Linked DNA regions of Homo sapiens: region 2 is linked to region 1. The links are contacts of gene promoters, found by promoter capture Hi-C in blood cells and fetal thymus (Javierre and others, 2016). All regions are on one chromosome and are shown on one strand. Each heading gives the region's core, a stretch centred on a gene start or on the middle of the fragment in contact. The rest is flanking DNA. Distances are from core to core; before and after follow the strand shown.

Region 1 (2,928 bases), core at 123-2,622:
TGCGTCCACCACGCTTGGTCCACACACTCTGTTATGGGCTGAACTGTGTCTTCCCCAATTTCATGTGTTAAAATCCCCAAGTCCCAGTACTCAGAATGTAACTGTATTTGTAGATAGGGCCTTTAAAGAGGTAATTAAGGTTACATGAGGCCATATTAGTGAGCCCTAATCCATTTGACAGTATTTGAAGACAAGGCCTTCAAAGACGTGTTTAAGTTAAACGGAGGCTGACAAGTGGGGCTCTAATCCAATATGGCGGGTATCCTTACAAGGAGAGACATTGAGCCAGGTGTGGTGGTGGGCCTGTAATCCCAGCTTCTAGGGAGGCTGAAGGAGGATCACCTGAGTCCAGGAGTTCAAGGCTGCAATGAGCTATGATGCCCACCATTGCACTCCAGCCTGGGTGACAGAGCAAGACCTCAAAATAATTAAAATTAAATAAATAAATTAAAGACATTGAATCTTCACAATGACTGGAAGTTAGGCATTCTTCTTATCCCCATCTTGCAGATGGCTGAACTGAGTGAGGCAAGGAGAAGGTAAGTAAGTCTTTGAAAGCTACACCACTAGTAAGTGGCAGGTGCAGGCTTCGAACCTGCAGTCGTCTAATACCAACGACTTAGCTTCACGTTCAACCCCTGCCTGAGACCACCTCTCCTTGCAGAAGCCAGGTCAAGGCCTGATGTTTGCTAGGGTGTGATGGGTGGGGTGCCTCAGTGGCAAGAGTGCTCACTCCTGCCTGGGGGAGTCTGGCAAGGGTTCACAGAGGTGACCTTGAATTGGCTGGTGGAAGGCGAGTAGGTGTTCAGCAGGCGGACTGGGGACAGACAGGCAGGGTGTCTGCACCGCAGCCCTGGGCGAAAGCTTGCACTGCGGGCAAGCGGCAGGGCTGACGGGGAGCCCAGGGATCGGAGCCAGCACCGGGGGCTTATTAGGGCTGCGGCCGCCCCAGGCCCTGCCTTTGGACCCTTCCGGCCTGCTTGGCAGATGCCACGGTTGGTTCCCCCACGGGGCATATTTCCGCCGGGCTCCAACTTAGGACCCCAGGCGGAGGTCCAGTGTCAGCTGGACAAAGCTCTGTTAGGAATTTTCCTATCAGGAGTCCCTAACCCCCTACACGCACACACACGGGCGCGCGGGCGCGCACGCACACACACGCACACATGCACACATACGCGCGCGCACATGCACATAGGCACACAGAGATACGCGCACACACACACACAAACGCACTCAGATTTCCCGGACCCTGGTTTTCCTCCTGTGACCCTTTCGGGGCCGGGCTCTCACCCTAAAGAAGCAGCCCCGCCCTGGGGTGGCCCCACCCTCTCTTGGGACCTGTCATAAGTCGGACCCCGGGCGCCCGGCTGCGCAGTCCCAGCCGCCTTCCCCAGGCAGTGGAACCTTCGGGCTCCTGTAAGTAGACCTCCTGCTTTCTTTCCTTCCCTTTTCTCCCTCCTCTAACCCCCTTGCTTTCTTCCTGCCAAGTTTCTAGACGCCCCAGTGGAGGAGGTTTGCTCTTAGACCTCCTCCCCTTACGTCGAAATGACCGCTGGGTCTTGCACTCGGAGGATCTTGGGAGCCGACGTCCCGACGCCTCCCGCCCCCGCAGTTCCTTGGAGAGCTTGGAGCCGCGCGCCGGAGGGAATAGGAAAGCTTGGTTACAACCCGGGACACCCGGTAGCTTCCTGCACCCGGGAGGGGGCTGGCCAGGGAACTTGCTGGACTGCACAACTGGGGGAGGGTAGAAGAAGAAAGATCGGGGTGGGGATTCGGGAATGGGCAAGCGGGCGGCGGGCGGCGGGAGGCGAGGGTGGGAGCAAAGGGCGAGCGGGCAAAGGCCGGGCGCCGCGCCAGGCCCCCTCCTCGGGCGGGCGAGACTTTCCCGGGACCTGGCCCCTCTGCGGCCAGACCCTTTCCAGGAGGGCTTCTGGACTTGTAGCGAGTTTGGAAGCCCAGCGGTTGCTTTTTTGGGGAAAGGGACAAAGATGTGTGAACTCTAAAGAAGTTGAACTCATAGAAATAACGACTAGAATGATGGTTGCCAGAGGCTGGGAGCGGGTTCGGGGGGGAATGGGGGCTTGTTGGCCAAAGGGTACGAAGTTCAGAGACGAGAGGAGTAGGTTCTGAGATCTGTTGCACAGCAGAGTGACTAGAGCCAATAATGTGTATTTCGAAATAACAGAGTAAACTGCAAATGTCTCACCGTAAAAATGATACGTAGGGCCTGGCGCGGTGGCTCACGCCTGTAATCCCAGCACTATGGAAGGTCGAGGCGGGCGAATCATTTGAGCTCAGGAGTTCTAGACCAGTCTGGCCAACATGGGGAAACCCCGTCTCTACTAAAAGTACAAAAATTAGCTGGGCGTGGTGGCGGGCGCCTGTAATCCCAGCTACTCAGGAGGCTGAGACAGGAGAACCGCTTGAACCCGGGAGACGGAGGTTGCAGTGAGCTGAGATCGCGCCATTGCACTTCAGCCTGGGCGACAGAGCGAGACTCCGTCACAAAAAAAGTCTTAATTTTAAAAAAAGAAAAGAAGGAACAACCCCGGGCTGCAGATCAGACCGCCCCCCTGGCTCCCTCGCAATGCGGGAGTGCTCCCTCCAGGTCACCGTGTCCCCTCCCGCGGCACCGGTAGGGGAGCTGGGGAGATCACTGGCAGCTCCAAATGGTTTCGTAACTGGATTGTTTGTAGCGGATGCACCCGCGGGAAGGCGCAGGTCCCAAGTGATTCGGCAGAGTTCAGTCCAAGCAGAACATCCTGAACCCCCAGCTCGGGGCAGCCTTCATCATCTTCCCTTGCTTTGGTGCAGCGTTTCAGCTCAAAATCGGTTTGGTGTGGAGTTTAAACTCAAATCCCTACTGGGCCAAAGAAAATTCGCACCCGATGGCTGAGTGCAAGTGGTTCACACCTGTAATCCCAGCAC
Region 2 (2,928 bases), core at 298-2,797, 760 kb before region 1:
ACATGGGAATTATGGGAGCTACAAGATGAGATTTGCCTGGGATCACAGAGCCAAACCATATCAGTGTCCATCAATGGATGAATGGATAAAGAAAATGTGACATATGTATAGATAGATACATACATATATAGATACATAGATAGATAGATAGACATATACAATGAAATACTATTAAGCCTTAAAGAAGAAAGAAATCCTGTCATTTGTGATAACATGGATGAACGTGGAAGACATTATGCTAAGTGATATAAGCCAGCCACAGAAAGGCATGATCTCACTTATGTGTGGAATCTAAAAATGTTGAACACGTAGAAGCAGCAAATAGAAGGGTGGCTGCCAGAGGCTGGGTTGTGGTGGGGGTGGAGGAATGGAGATATGTAGATTACACGGTACTGAAACTGTTAGATAGGGTCAGTAAGTTCTGGAAATCTAATATACAACATAGTGACTTAGTTAGTGGTAATGTATGTAAGTATGCCTTGTTTTATGGAGCTTCACTTTATTGTACTTCACAGATAATGCATTTTTTACAAATTGAATATTTCTGTCAACCCTGTGTCACGCAAGTCAATTGGTGCCATTTTTCCAATAATGTGTCCTCACTTTGTGTCTCTGTCATATTTTCCTAATTCTCACAATATTTCTTTTTTAAATTTCTTAATTTTTTAAAAATAGAGACAGGGTCTTGCCCTGTTGCACAGGCTAGAGTACAGTGGCGTGATCATAGCTCACTGCAGCCTTAGACGCCTAGGCTCAAGCTATCCTTCCACCTCAGCCTCACGAGTAGCTGGTTCTACAGGCTTATAGTTTTTGTAAAGACAGGGTCTTGCTGTGTTGCCCAAGCTGGTCTTGAACTCCTGGCTCAAATGATCCACACACCTCGGTTTCCCAAAGTGCTGGGATTACAGGCATGAGCCATGGTGCCTGGCCCCCTGGTACTTTTCTTTACCAAAATACTTATAAAAGGTTAGTATGCTCTTTTGCTTTTCTTCTGCTTTGCAAATAACTAGGGCTTTTTTTTTGTCTTCTTGAAATTCTCTTATCAAATTAAACTTTTATTGCCTGTTTTTAAAGATCTTGCTACTGTGAGACCCTGTCTCAAAAAAAAAAAAAAAAAAAAAAAAAAAAAGAACTGACCTAGCAAGCCACAGTGACATGGAGGAAAGTTAAATGCATATTACTAAGCGAAAGAAGCCAGTCTGGAAAGGGTACACACTGTATGATTCCAAATATATGACATTCTGAAGAGGCAAAACTATGGAGACAGTAAAAAGGATCAGTGTTTGCCGGTAGTTAGTGAGGAGGGAGGGATCAATAGGCAGAGATCAGAAGATTTTTAGGGCAGTAAAACTATTCTGTATGATACCATAATGTTACAGATATGTCATTATATATTTGTCAAAATTCACAGAAGGTACAACACAGAGTGAACCCTATGGATTTTGGTTGATAATGATATGTCAATGTTGGTTTATTGATTATATCAAATTTACCATACCAACTGGGGCTGTTAATGGTGGAGGAGGGAGTATGTGGAAACTCTCAGTACTTTTTGCTCAATTTTTCTGTGAATCTAGCACTCTTCTAAAAAATCAAGTCTAATAATTACAAAACAAAAGCAAAAACCATGTGGTATTGGCATAGGGATAGACATATAGATCAATTAATAGAATAAATAAACTGATACACTTATGCTCTATTGATTTTCAGCAAGCATACCAAGACTAATAGGTCAAGAATAGCCTTTGTGTGTGTGTGTGTGTGTGTGTGTGTGTGTGTGTGTGTGTGTGACAGTTTTGCTCTGTAGCCCAGGCTGAGGTGCATTGGTGTGTGGATCTTGGCTCACTGCAGCCTCAACCTCCTGGGCTCATGCAGTCGGCCCACTTCAGCCTCCCGAGTAACTGGGACTACAGGCTGGTATTTTTTGTAGAGACAGGTCTCACCATGTTGCCCAGGCTGGGCTTGAACTCCTGGGCTCTAGAGATCTGCCCTCCTCAGATTCCCAAAGTTCTGAGATCACAAGCGTGTGCTACCAAGCCCAGCCCCAGATATTCGTATTAACTAGATATTCTTATTCATAAAAGAATGAGTTTGGACCCACCCCCTGACTCCATCTCAAAAATTATATGAAAATTAATTTTTCACAGTTTTTATGGTTTTATTTCAACACAAAACATGCACATGAGCTGTCTATTCCCTTTCTTTGCTGTGCTGCCTGGCATTGCGACTGGTGACTCTGATGGCCAGCTGGGCTGCCCTTTCCATGATGGCTTTGCAGTTCCAGAGGACACATTGTGAGCTATCTCAGGACAGTAAGATTTTCTGCATGTCAGCAGCCCTTCCAAGTCCTTGACAATGCGTACCAGAAACTTCCAGAAGCCGCTGGGCAGCATGTGCTTTGTGTTTTCATTGCTTCTCTATAACCAATGTTGGGCATCAAGATCTGGCCCTTGAATCTTCTATGAACGCAGTTGTCTCTGGGTTTCCACCGGTTATGCTTAATTTTGACATATTGTTCTGACTGGTGGTGAATGAACTTCTTGCTCCTCTTTTTGATGATCTTGGGCTTCATGAGGGGTCTGATGGTGGCCATGATGGTGAGTAAGAGATGGCTCTAAAAATCAACCCCAAATGGATCAAAGACCTTAAATGTAGGAGCTAAAATTATAAAGCTCTTGAAAGAAAACATAAGGGTAAATCTTCATGACCTTGGATTTGACAATGGATTCTTAAATATGACACCAAAAGCACAAGCCACAGAAGGGAAAAAAAAGAAGATACATTGAACTTCATAAGAATTAAAATAATTAATTTGTGCATCCCAGGACACTATCAAGAAAGTGAAAAGACAACCTAGAGAATGAGAAAAAATACTTATAAATCATATACCTGATAAGGCTCCAGTGTCCAATATATACACAGAATTCT

Evidence for each region. Contacts are between HindIII fragments. The CHiCAGO score rates a contact against its expected background, and 5 or more counts as called.
Region 2: a contact is called between a fragment that was not itself captured here and the fragment with the promoter of PTGR1 in region 1, in 1 of 17 cell types (naive CD8 T cells). The highest score is 5.0, in naive CD8 T cells.

The regions. Positions count from the first base shown.
Region 1 is chr9:111,598,091-111,601,018 of GRCh38, reverse strand. PTGR1 (prostaglandin reductase 1) reads left to right here and starts at 1,372. Exons shown (of 10, transcript NM_001146108.2): 1 at 1,372-1,416. RefSeq lists an enhancer at 949-1,521. The HindIII fragment of the contact is 792 bases long and covers 867-1,658 here.
Region 2 is chr9:112,362,379-112,365,306 of GRCh38, reverse strand. It overlaps a transcript of PTBP3 not described here and the pseudogene RPL32P22. Among named protein-coding and RNA genes, the nearest start is that of HSDL2, 16 kb to the left of the region's middle. The HindIII fragment of the contact is 5,583 bases long and covers 1-2,928 here.